Linked DNA regions of Homo sapiens: regions 1 and 2 are each linked to region 3. Evidence: promoter capture Hi-C in 16 types of primary human blood cells and fetal thymus (Javierre and others, 2016). All regions are on one chromosome and are shown on one strand. Each heading gives the region's core, a stretch centred on a gene start or on the middle of the fragment in contact. The rest is flanking DNA. Distances are from core to core; before and after follow the strand shown.

Evidence for each region. Contacts are between HindIII fragments. The CHiCAGO score rates a contact against its expected background, and 5 or more counts as called.
Region 1: a fragment that was not itself captured here is called in contact with the fragment with the promoter of GP2 in region 3 in 1 of 17 cell types (M2 macrophages); the score reaches 5.9 in M2 macrophages.
Region 2: a contact is called between a fragment that was not itself captured here and the fragment with the promoter of GP2 in region 3, in 1 of 17 cell types (M2 macrophages). The highest score is 6.2, in M2 macrophages.

What each region holds. Positions count from the first base shown.
Region 1 is chr16:19,644,135-19,647,857 of GRCh38, forward strand. VPS35L (VPS35 endosomal protein sorting factor like) reads left to right here. Exons shown (of 31, transcript NM_020314.7): 23 at 752-815; 24 at 3,650-3,723. Among named protein-coding and RNA genes, the nearest start is that of KNOP1, 72 kb to the right of the region's middle. The HindIII fragment of the contact is 8,316 bases long and covers 1-3,723 here.
Region 2 is chr16:19,607,982-19,611,722 of GRCh38, forward strand. It overlaps VPS35L (VPS35 endosomal protein sorting factor like), which reads left to right. Exons shown (of 31, transcript NM_020314.7): 10 at 197-293; 11 at 993-1,040; 12 at 2,341-2,434. Among named protein-coding and RNA genes, the nearest start is that of VPS35L, 54 kb to the left of the region's middle. RefSeq lists an enhancer at 1,241-2,440. The HindIII fragment of the contact is 3,228 bases long and covers 624-3,741 here.
Region 3 is chr16:20,325,106-20,328,914 of GRCh38, forward strand. It overlaps GP2 (glycoprotein 2), which reads right to left and starts at 2,408. Exons shown (of 11, transcript NM_001502.4): 1 at 2,362-2,408; 2 at 1,233-1,362. The coding sequence starts at 1,326. The HindIII fragment of the contact is 1,228 bases long and covers 1,533-2,760 here.

The sequences.
Region 1 (3,723 bases), core at 333-2,832, 680 kb before region 3:
CCAAATAACTATTTATTTAACTATCCAAGTATAATCAAAACTGTAATGACTTTTTCTTATTTATATTTGTGTTACATTTTCTATTAAATAGAAGCAACTGAGACCTGAGATTTACTTTACAATGTATCAAAAAAATAAGATGGATTGATGGATGGAGAGGGGAATGGATAATTATGTGTAAAACAAGTAAAATGGTGATGGCAGGATTTCGATGGTGTATGGGTGTTTACTGGAAAATTCTTTCAACTTTGCTGTACATTGGAAATATTTCTGTTTCCTTTTTGGGGAGAACGGGGTCTCGTCATGTTGCCCAGGTTGATCTCCAACTCCTAGGCTCAAACGAACCTGCTACCTCTGCCTTCCTAAGTGCTGGGATTACAGGTGTGAACCAGCACACCCCGCTGGAGATTTTTTAAATAAAATATTCAATGAAATTTCCCTGAAATACAAAATTTGACATTAGACCTTGCTGCCCAAGTTCCAAAGAAGTGAAAGTTACCTTTTCTTTTCTTGTTAATAAATCTATCTTGAGAACAGCATATTTGAGGGAGATGAGAAACATATTTAAATTATGTTAATTGTGATTATGTATTTTTATCAAAGGAAAAATAAGCAGCCTGTTGGCAGTTTTTTAAATCTAGAAAATGCAAAATGTTCTTACCTGTTAAATTACTTACCCCTTGTGTATTTTTTTCTTTAGAAACTTTCATCTATTACCTCCGTGTTAATTATGTACAATTATTGATTTTAGTGCACTCACTCTTGAGGATGAGAAAAGAATGCTGTCATATTTGATTAATGGATTTATAAAAATGGTAAGTATTAGGGAAGAAGTTTCAGTGCACTTGGAAGTGTGATGTAATTGTTTATCCTTATGTTGGCGAAAGCAGTTAACATTATGTTCTCTGGTGCTTTTCATTCTTAGTGAGATAAAATGAAATTAGAAAACATCTTACATTAGCCAGGACTCCCCTGGGGGCAAAGAGAGCCAAGACAAACTGGCTTAAGAGGAAAAAGGTGGGGGGCGGGAGGGTGATGGGAGGAGGGATTTCTTGGCTCATGTGACAAAAAGTCCAGGGGCTGGAACTCTCCAAAGCAGCAGCCGGGCTCAGGGTCTCCGGGATGTCATCAGGACCTGCCTTCCCTGTCTTTTTTCTTTTTTTTTTTTTTTTTGAGATGGAGTCTCGCTCTGTCGCCCAGGCTGGAGTGCAGTGGCGCGATCTCAGCTCACTGCAAGCTCCGCCTCCCGGGTTCACGCCATTCTCCTGCCTCAGCCTCCCGAGTAGCTGGGACTACAGGCGCCCGGCACCACGCCCGGCTAATTTTTTGTATTTTTAGTAGAGACGGGGTTTCACTGTGTTAGCCAGGATGGTCTCGATCTGCTGACCTCGTAATCCGCCCGCCTCGGCCTCCCAAAGTGCTGGGATTACAGGCGTGAGCCACTGCACCCAGCCCCCTGTCTGTCTTTAGCCCTGGGCTCTGCCCTGTTGGCCTCCGGCTCAGCTGGGCTTGCCCCACCAGAGCTCCAGGTTTCCATCCCCCCCAGCTCTGCAGCCCAGCAGGTGGGATTCCAGCAAAGTCCTGGGATTGAGTCTCTTTGGATTAACATGGGTCGTGGCCCCAAGCACACCTGGGTGACCTGAGTCAGGAGGGCCGAGAGTGGAAAGAAGGTGTGTCCTGAAGCAGCTGATGCAGATCATCAGACGGTGATGGAAACTATGCCGGGCAGGCAAAACGCCAGATATCCACTCCCCATCTGTTTTACTTATCTACTGCTGAGTAACAGCTCATCCCAAAACTTAGTGGCTTTAAATAACAGGGCTTTTTTTTGCTGTTTTTTTTGGGGGGGTCGAGACAGGGGTTTCCAACTCCTGGTTTCAAACAATCCTCCAGCCTTGGCCTCCCACAGTGTTGGGATTACAGGCCTGAGCCACTGCGCCCAGCATGAGTTTTTTATTAGTTCTCAAACTCTGCGGATCAGCTTGGTAACCAGGCTGCTACAGGGAGTGTGGTGTGGCACTGGCGTGGCACGATTGGGCTGGAGGATCCACAGTGGCCTTGTTCCCTTCTCCAGGGTTTTGGTGCTGGATATGGGCTGGGGCATCTTGGTTTTCTTCCATGTCCTCTCTTTCTCACCACTGTTCTCAGTCAGTGATTCCAGTTGAGCTCTCTTACTTGGTGCTGCCTTCTATGAAGGCACAGACAGAAGCAGCAAGGCATTTTAAGGCCAAGGCTTAGAAATCACACAGTGAGGCCAGGCGCGGTGGCTCACATCTGTAATCCCAGCACTTTGGGAGGCTGAGGCAGGTGGATCACCTGCGGTCAGGTCGAGACCAGCCTCACCAACATGGTGAAACCCTGTCTCTGCTAAAAATACAAAATTAGCCGGGTGTTGTGGTGCATGCCTGTAATCCCAGCTACTCGGGAGGCTGAGGCAGGAGAATCGCTTGAACCCGGGAGGCAGAGGTTGCGGTGAGCCAAGACCATGCCACTGCACTCCAGCCTGGGCAACAGAGCAAAACTCTGTCTTGGGAAAAAAAAAAAAGAAATCACACAGTAAACCCCTGCCATATTCTACTGCAATCTGTGGGTCAAAGCAAATCACAGTCTTGAGGGGACCCAGTCTGGAGGGGAAGAGGCTCTGCCTTTTGATGGGGGGTAGTCCACAGAGACATTGCAGAAGGGCAAGCACAGTGGGAAGGTTTCCTGCAGCCTCCTTTGGGAACATCCCACCATTATACTATCCCAGCCTGAACAGTCTTCACCTTCATTCTGGGTGCTCTAAGCCAAAACACCAACTGCTGCAAATATCTTCTATTTTAATAGAAAAGTCAGGACCAAAGCTGACTGAGATGAAAATGACGAGATCACTTTGAAAATAACCTTGAAATTCTGACTTGTTCAATAGTGCGGGTTGATTAGTCTACCTGACTCTGCGGGTAAAATATCAATTTTGATGAAAATTCAGGATTAGCCTTTCAATTCCCGTGTTAGGAAACAGACATATGGATTTTCCCAAGTCGCTCTCCTTTGCCCTTGCTTTTTGTACTCATCATGTGGTATTTATCTTTTTACGGCATTGTCTGAAAGTTACCAAGTTATTATGGAAAAGAATATAAGGAAATCAGATATGAAACATGATAGCTGTAATGGAAATGGCAATGTTAAACCTCATCTGGACAAAAATGATTGATGTACAGTAAAGTTTTTCTTACTAACCAGCTATTCATAAATTTGAAGAAATAGGAGAAGAGAGGATGTTTAATGGTGGAAAAACTTCCATCTATGGCTTCTGTAGCCACCAGTGAGCTGCCAAGGTTGGGTCCCCATCAGGAAGCAGAAAGGTGTGACTGTTACGATGGCAAACCTTCTGACAAGGGGCCCCCAATAACCACATTTATGTTCTGTGAAAAGGCCACAGCTGACAAACAATATCCCATTATTCCCTTTCCAGTGGTTTCCTTCAGAGTCTGGAAAATTCTGCTTACACTCTGAGCTTCTGTTTTATACCCTTCGACTTCTTAGGTTCTAGTCCAGTGCCCACGTCATAAAGATGAGGTGGCAATAATAATATTTCAGTCATACCATGTGCCTGCGTTCTCTCTAAAAATACCACTGTCCCTTTCAGCGTCTTTCTCCTTGATTCTAGGTTTCCTTTGGCCGTGATTTTGAACAACAGCTGAGTTTTTATGTTGAGTCCAGGTCGATGTTTTGCAATCTGGA
Region 2 (3,741 bases), core at 988-3,487, 720 kb before region 3:
GACACTTGGCACTTAGAAAGCCTGTGTCTGTGTAAACTATTGTTATCATCAGTTACTTCCTAATAGTGATATTTGGAAGGAAAGAAACAGGCTGAGTCACCCCCTTTTCTGCTCCAGGGTAATGTATTCCCATCCAGGGACTCACACAGATCCTGAGATTTAGGAGGGCTGATGGATCTTGTTTTTTGTATTACAGATCACTTTTCTCCAGAGAATGCAAATGACACGGCCAAGGAAACATGCCTAAATTGGTTTTTCAAGATTGCCTCCATCAGGGAACTCATTCCAAGATTGTATCCTTTTTTTTTTTTTTGGTCTGATGATTTTAAAGATAGGCTAAAAGAATTGTACTGTTAATAGAAGCCATGTGATGGGATGCCCTGACATTCTTATTGAAAGTTTGGTCCCGTTACGGTTGCTAGCCTGAAAACACATACAGGGCAAGCCACATTGTAGAAACCCTTGGACTCTTGCTCTTTCCAGTTTTTTGTCTTTTACTTTGAATACGATGCCATGTGTCAAGCATTTGTTTCCTTGAGGAACATTCCCACCTTAATTCTCTCAATTAAAATGCTTCATATTTGTGTTTTCTCTGATTCCAAGAACTTGAAAGAACAGGGTCAAGCTTTGCAGGGCAAATGCTACTATTGAAGAACAGATAATTTGACTTATACATAAATTCCATCTTAGTTACCTAAAGTTCTTTCTTTCCCCATAAAGCATTGATTAGAAATGCTCAAAACCCAGTTTATATTTCAGCATGCAACTATGAATCAACGTATAACATTTCCCACAATTTATTTCAAATAAGTATGAAACTTTGAAAACCATATGTAGAAACCATAAGCTACCTTAGTTCGCTGGATTGTTGAGGGCCACTGTGGTCCCCATCTCCTAAGACCCGCCTACTTCTATTCATGGATAGTTTAGTCTTTTCTCCATAGGGAGTAGACCTTCTGGAAAACATCTTCCTTAACAGGATGTTTTTGTAGTTACGTGGAGGCATCCATCCTGAAATGTAACAAATTCCTCTCCAAAACGTAAGGCTCTTCGGTAAAATCTAGAACCATAAAATTTCTAAAAATCTCCCATGTGTACACAGATAGTAATGGCAATGTAATAGTAGCCATTATTCACTGAGTACTTAATGTGTGTTAAGCACCTTCTGTTCTTTTTCTCATTGAATCCAAATGAAAACTGAATGAAGTAGAGACACCATCCTAATCCCCATATTAGAGAGAGGAAAACTCAAGCCTGGAGAAGTTGGTTAAGGAGGTCATGGAAGATCAGCTCAACTGGATTTGAATCTTGGCTGTACTGGTACTAGCTGTATGGTCTTGAACAAGTTACTTACAGCCTCAGAACCTCTGGCTCCCTCTCCTGGGAACATGACCCTAAGAAGAGGTCTGAGGGGGTCCTTTGGGTCACACATGCAACAATGAGAGTCACCCCTGGCACACGGTGGGCCCATCCTCCATGTTGGCTGCTGTTGATGATGATGATGATGAAAATGACGTCAGAAGCAGAAGCCTTTGCCCTTAGTGGCTTAGGTCCATGCCACTCAATTTATCACAATGTTTTGAGAGTAGTTACAGGACGTGGGGGACCCAGATCTGCTTTCTGCAGAGCAGGTGAAATGCTGAGTCATGTTAGATAGCTAGATAATAAATTCCTTGAAGCCCGGGAGTGACTGATTCATGGTGCTCCACAGATAGCTCTACCGATTGGATTTAGAATTTATCTCAAGTGTGTTGGATTTGGATCTAGGGTTGCCTGGAATAGTTTGGGGGAATAACATGGGGGCTGAAGAAACATTATTTTGCCTCACCAGTTGGAGGAGGATAATGCCTTAGGCAGAGGGAAGACATACGTTGCAGGAGAAATAAATTGTAATTCACATTGTTGGTGGTTGGAGGATGTCAGATGCCAGCCTGAGATTCACGGAAGGAACAGGGTACGGGACAGTAAATCTGTGGCAAACGAAAATACATGTGGAGAGAAGATCAAGGGGTGCCCAGTCGATGGAAAATAATTGAAGACAAAAACTGTTAAAATTAATAAAATAAATGTGACCTCGACTGGGGAAAAAATGTGGTTAGCCTCCACCACTGAGCAAATGATAACGATGAAAGAAATCATTCAATGAATGAATTGTATCAGAAGAGAAAGACTGTTGTTACATTGCCTTAGAAAACTGAAACTTTGACCTTGGTTTGTTACTGAAACTTGATTTTTCCCCCCCTCCCTGAAATTTAGGAAGTCTTTATCTTTATTTAAAAAATTAAAGAACAGCGAGTTCTCACGTCGAATATAATGCTGGCCTGTTTTTGTCTCTTGCAGGGGAATTTCAGAGTGCCTGCCCCGGTTGACATGCATGATCAGAGGGATCGGAGACCCACTAGTGTCGGTGTATGCCCGTGCCTACCTGTGCCGGGTAGGCCATGCGAGTCACTGCCCTTGACGGCACGGCTGCCACCCGTCTCCTTGAATGTTCACACAGGGCCCTCCTTCCCCACCACCCCGCAAGTCATTGAGAGAAGGACTTTATTAGTGGCTAATTTTAGATCATGGCTCTGCCACAGAAAGTAGAACTGTAGGGTTTCTTTTAAAAATTAATTTTAAAGTAGACCAACTTACTGTAGCTCTAATTAGGGGACGTTTAAGGTCATCTTCTTACAAATGAACTGGTTTTCAGAAGTAATTGTTTCTCAGTTCTTGCTGGGAAGGAGGTTCCCAGGGCCTTTGGGCTAACAGGTTGCTTTTCATTGACTTCAAACATGCTCTTCCTTTGTCTTGACTTTGATTGCTTTATTAGTTTTCTGCTTGGCAGGGGAGCAGTGTCCCACATGATGGCAGGCCTCAGGGTCTGTGTGGCCTGGCTTAGGTGGCTGCTGTGAAAGGGGGTAGAGGGACTGATTAGAAATTACTTGCCCATGCCCTGCTTTAAAGCACCGTGAGGCTTCAGCTAAGCTATTAAGTTTTTTGTGTATGGAAAAAATGTAACCAATGGAGGTTATATGGTCTTTCTTTTTTTTGGAGATGGAGTCTTACTGTGTCGCCCAGGCTGGAGTGCAGTGGCGCCATCTCGGCTCATTTCAACCTCCACCGCCTGGGTTCAAATGATTCTCCTGTCTCAGCCTCCTGGGTAGCTGAGATTACAGGTGTCCGCCACCATGCCCGTCTAAGTTTTGTATATTTAGTAGAGATGGGGTTTCACCATGTTGGCCAGGCTGGTCTCGAACTCCTGACCTCAAGTGATCTGCCCACGTTGGCCTCCCAAAGTGCTGGGATTACAGGCGTGAGCCACTGCGCCCGGCCAGTATATGGTCTCTCCATAGTTTTCTTCAGCTCACACAGGGGCTTTGCCTCTGTCAGGACTCCCCCTAGCAACGAGAATCTTCCCTATCGTCCCATCAGTATTGCACATCCTTAGAGAGGGATCATTGCACCTGATAAGCCCCAGACTTCCTTGAGGACAAAGCTGCAGTTAGAGCCTCCCCCATGAGTTTGCACCTTATTAAATCAGAAGGCGAGAACATGTAGCCTGTGATTTGCCTCTTCTGCATGACAGCCAGCAAATGTCGGAAGCCCTGTGGTCTCTCAAGTTTCACGAAAAACTAAGTCAGTGCCCTCAGAGTGAGGAGCAGATATCCATTAGGAAGGGCACTTTTTATAGGTCTGTTTCTTGATACTGAGAATGAAAGAAAAAGCCTTTCGTTTAAGGGCATCCTCTTCCCTCTT
Region 3 (3,809 bases), core at 1,158-3,657:
GGCAGAGAAGTGAAGGAGGAAGACCACAGGCTGGTCAGGCTGAGTTTAAATCCAATTCTACACCTGCTGGCTGGGTGACCTTGGCAGGTGACTTAAGTCCCCTGAGACTCATTGGCAAAACCACACCTGTGAACCAGTGGTTCTCAAACTTTATCCGTTCCTACGCTTTGGGTCATGACCTTTGTCATACATGTGTTTGCCTGTCCTATTATTGACTTAAAATGTTTCTTTCAATGATTATCTTTTAAGAATTAGTTTCATCTTAAAGAATAATATCTGTGATAACATAGATATCATGTGCTAGTTATATTTTTTAGATGTGCATAAAAAATAAACATACAGCCATTAAAAACTTGTTAAGAGTTTGCCAGGCACCCCCAGAACCATCTTGGAATATATACACCTCATTTGGGGAAAGAAAGCCTTAAACGATTGTTAGAGGATTAAATGTGATAATATGTGTAAAATGCCAAGCACAGCACCAGGGTCAAGCTAATTGTCTTCTCTAGTTCTATTTTGTTGAATGCTGTAGATGCCTGAAGAAGGAGCTAAGTGCACACACAGGATCATGTGCTTACAATACACATTAAAGGGGCTTTCTAAAAAAAAGAGATTTTCAAGCTTTGCACATGCTTATAATACACATTAGAAGGGCCTTTCAGAAAAAAAGATTTTCAAACTTTGCTCATGCATGTACTTATTTTAAGACAAGGAATCACTGCATTTGTTATTCTTAGATTGTATTTTTCCACTGGAGGCCTCCAATGAGCTCAGTACCCTCTCCCACCCTCCTCCAGGGGCTGAAATTTGCACTCTAATTCTAAGCCTGAGACTCCTTTCTGCAAGTATCTGAATTGCCCACTTCATAAAGAGATCACTTAATCTAGCCCTTTCAGGAAAAGGAGAAGGCACTTGCCAGCACAAGGTGACTGAGTTATGTATTTCTTGATCTTCTTTAATCTGGGGTCTCTAATCTCCCAAAGATATGGGCATGGGAAATTATGTTAACTGGCTCCCACTGCCCTTTCAGAGGAATTTCTGATTAGGCTCTTTGAGAGATTGTGACTTGATTTCCATTGTTTCTCATTATGTTTCCCTTGACTTCTAGCTCTGAGTTTTTGCTTTAGAACTGCCAATTCCTCTTCCTTACCTGAGCCACCTTCTCTGCACTTCTATCCTCACTTGCTAGGTCTTCCTTGACATCTGAGATGCCAGGTGAGCAGAATACTTACCTCGCTGCACTGCAGATGCCTGGGTCAGAATGCAGGAGACCAAGGCCAGCCACAGGAGGCCAGAGCCCACCATCCTTTCCATAAGGTGAGGCATGCAGGTCACTTTGCTGTATGCAGACTTCCCATGCAGCTATGGGAAAGAAAAGACCAAGATAAGATTAGGGCATAGGTCTATGTTCTTAGAAACAGATCCGTTGACTTCCTTCATAAAGAGCTGCATTGTTTCAAAGTAGGTGTGACTTATGGACAGATAGAGCGAGATAATGGGTGATAAAATTGACAGTAAGCAAACCAAAGGCAAGCTTAGAGCTGGCTAGTACTGCAGAATGTCCTAGAAAGGTCTCAGGATGGTCCCTGCTCAGGTGGAAGTAGAGGCTCTTTGGAGATTGGATAGAGAAAAAGGGATATGGTACCTGTGAATACCTGCACACAAAAGTAATGGCTGCCCTTTCTTAGTTTTATGCATTGGGTGCTGCTAAGAGCCCCCTGAAATGTCCTCTATGGATGTAGATTTCTGTGACTGTGGAACCATGCCAAACCGAGCCTCATGTTCCTTGCTCCTAGTACAGAATCTGGCACACAAGGAGTACTCAGTAGAGGATTAAGGATGAATAAATAAATCAATGGGGGTTGGGGGCGGTGGCGAGGCAGAAAGAAAGAGCTGCAAAAAAGCCTGCCAGCATTTGGATGGCATTTACTTTTCTGGGAAATACTTTCCCTAAATGGCCAAATCTTTGGATAACTTCCTACAACCTCTGGAAGACTTCAGTGGAAAATAGAGATCGGTTTCGGGCAGGGATACCATGAGTATGCTATGAGACAGCAGGGATAGGGAAGCACCCAGGATTGGTGATTCTTAGAGATGAGATCCCAATAGAGACCTAGTTCCCTGGTGGGAATATCTGGGACAAGGAAGAGGGTGGCGTCCGTAGGCCTGGAGCATCGCAGATGACTGGAAGCATGACTGAGTTGGACATAGAGTGGTACCTGGAGCACTTGACAATGGCCAGGGTCCAAACTACTTGCTGGGTTCTAAAAATTTCCAGAAACAAAGAATCCTAGCATGTCCAGTGGATCAAGATTTCCCAGGATTAGGAGGAAGCCTCCTGGGGCTTAAAGCAGGACTTACCTCCGATGAGAACACAAAGCGTTCCTCCTCTGGCCAGCCATGGGAATGCAGCCTGCTGTGGGCCGTCTTTTTATTGCAATTTCCCACCCATGTGTCTCTCCTCAATTGGTGCACAGGTATGATGGGAGTTCTAGGCCATACACTGGGCTTGTTGAGTGGAGGTGAGATAAGCCATTTACGCAAAGGATGGTGAAAGAAGGGCCCTCCCCTCACAATGTCAACCCTTCCAGCTGTCTCAGCATTGTGCGAATGCTTCCTACAAACAATAGTGCTGTGTGCTGAATGCTGAACATGCTGGGCACTGCTTTGCGTTCTTGACTTCTCACATTTAATCTTCATAATTAATCAATGAAACTGGTGCCATATTTATTACCAGAAACCAAACACGAATTGAAAGGAAGCTTAATACCCAAAGGGAAGTGAAGAGAAAATCAAACAGGCACTTGTTTGCACAATGGATTTTCAGTTGTACCTTGTGTTCCTAGCTAATCATCTTGGAACATTTCTGCTTCTGTCTGAAGGCCACTGAGCTTGGGGCCAGTTAGACTAAGAGGACACATAGGAAAGGAAAGAAGGGAGTGTGGATGTTTCGAAAAATTCCATTTATTGGTCCATAGAATCTACCCAACTCCGGATTTCTAATGCTGAGCAGTTTTGGAATGGCTAATTTGGTGATGATGGATTTTGGAATGGCAAAGGACAGACAAAGGTTCTTGGACAAAAGAAGCACCAGAGTAGCCCCTGTAAATCCCTTTTGATATGTAGGCTGCCCTAGAGATTGGAAGGCATGAGACTGAGAAGAGGCTGTAGAGGATCTTGGACTTATTAACTCCAGGCTTGGACCTGGCTTTCATGACATGGTAGAAATCATGGACTTCATAAAAGAGCCAAAGCTTTTGCAGAAAAAATGGCCACTGCTTCTTCTCTGTCACTCTGGGACTCCTTAAGGAGCCAAGGCAACTGGAGTCAAGGGAGCAGGAGGGTCTTGGCATTGGTAACACCTTCTACAAAACCTCAACCTGGAAAAAGAAAAGGTGCTACAAGCCACCTTCTCTACTCCCAGAGCAACTGGAGAATAAATAGTCTCTAAAATGTGGAACTTGTGACAACTGGGCCCACTAAATCACCTACTGATCCATTCAGTCTGGCCAGGTGCCCATCCCAGTCTCCCCAGTGGCCACTCTTAACCTTCCCATTCCTCTTAAATGGTCTCTGCAGCTATTATCACCCACTCACACCACCTTTCTCAGCAGATATCTGGTACCCTACTTCAAAAACAATTTAGGCCACAACACCTGACCTTGCTCCTTCCCCTGTAAACATATAAATACTGGTCTCCATCCTCCACCCCTTCCCCCTCCAACTTCTGATAAGGCGATGTTCCTCCTTTTCAAAGTCAGTTCCTCCATCCCTCTTCTGGCTTCTCCATTCCAATCTGAACCATGTAG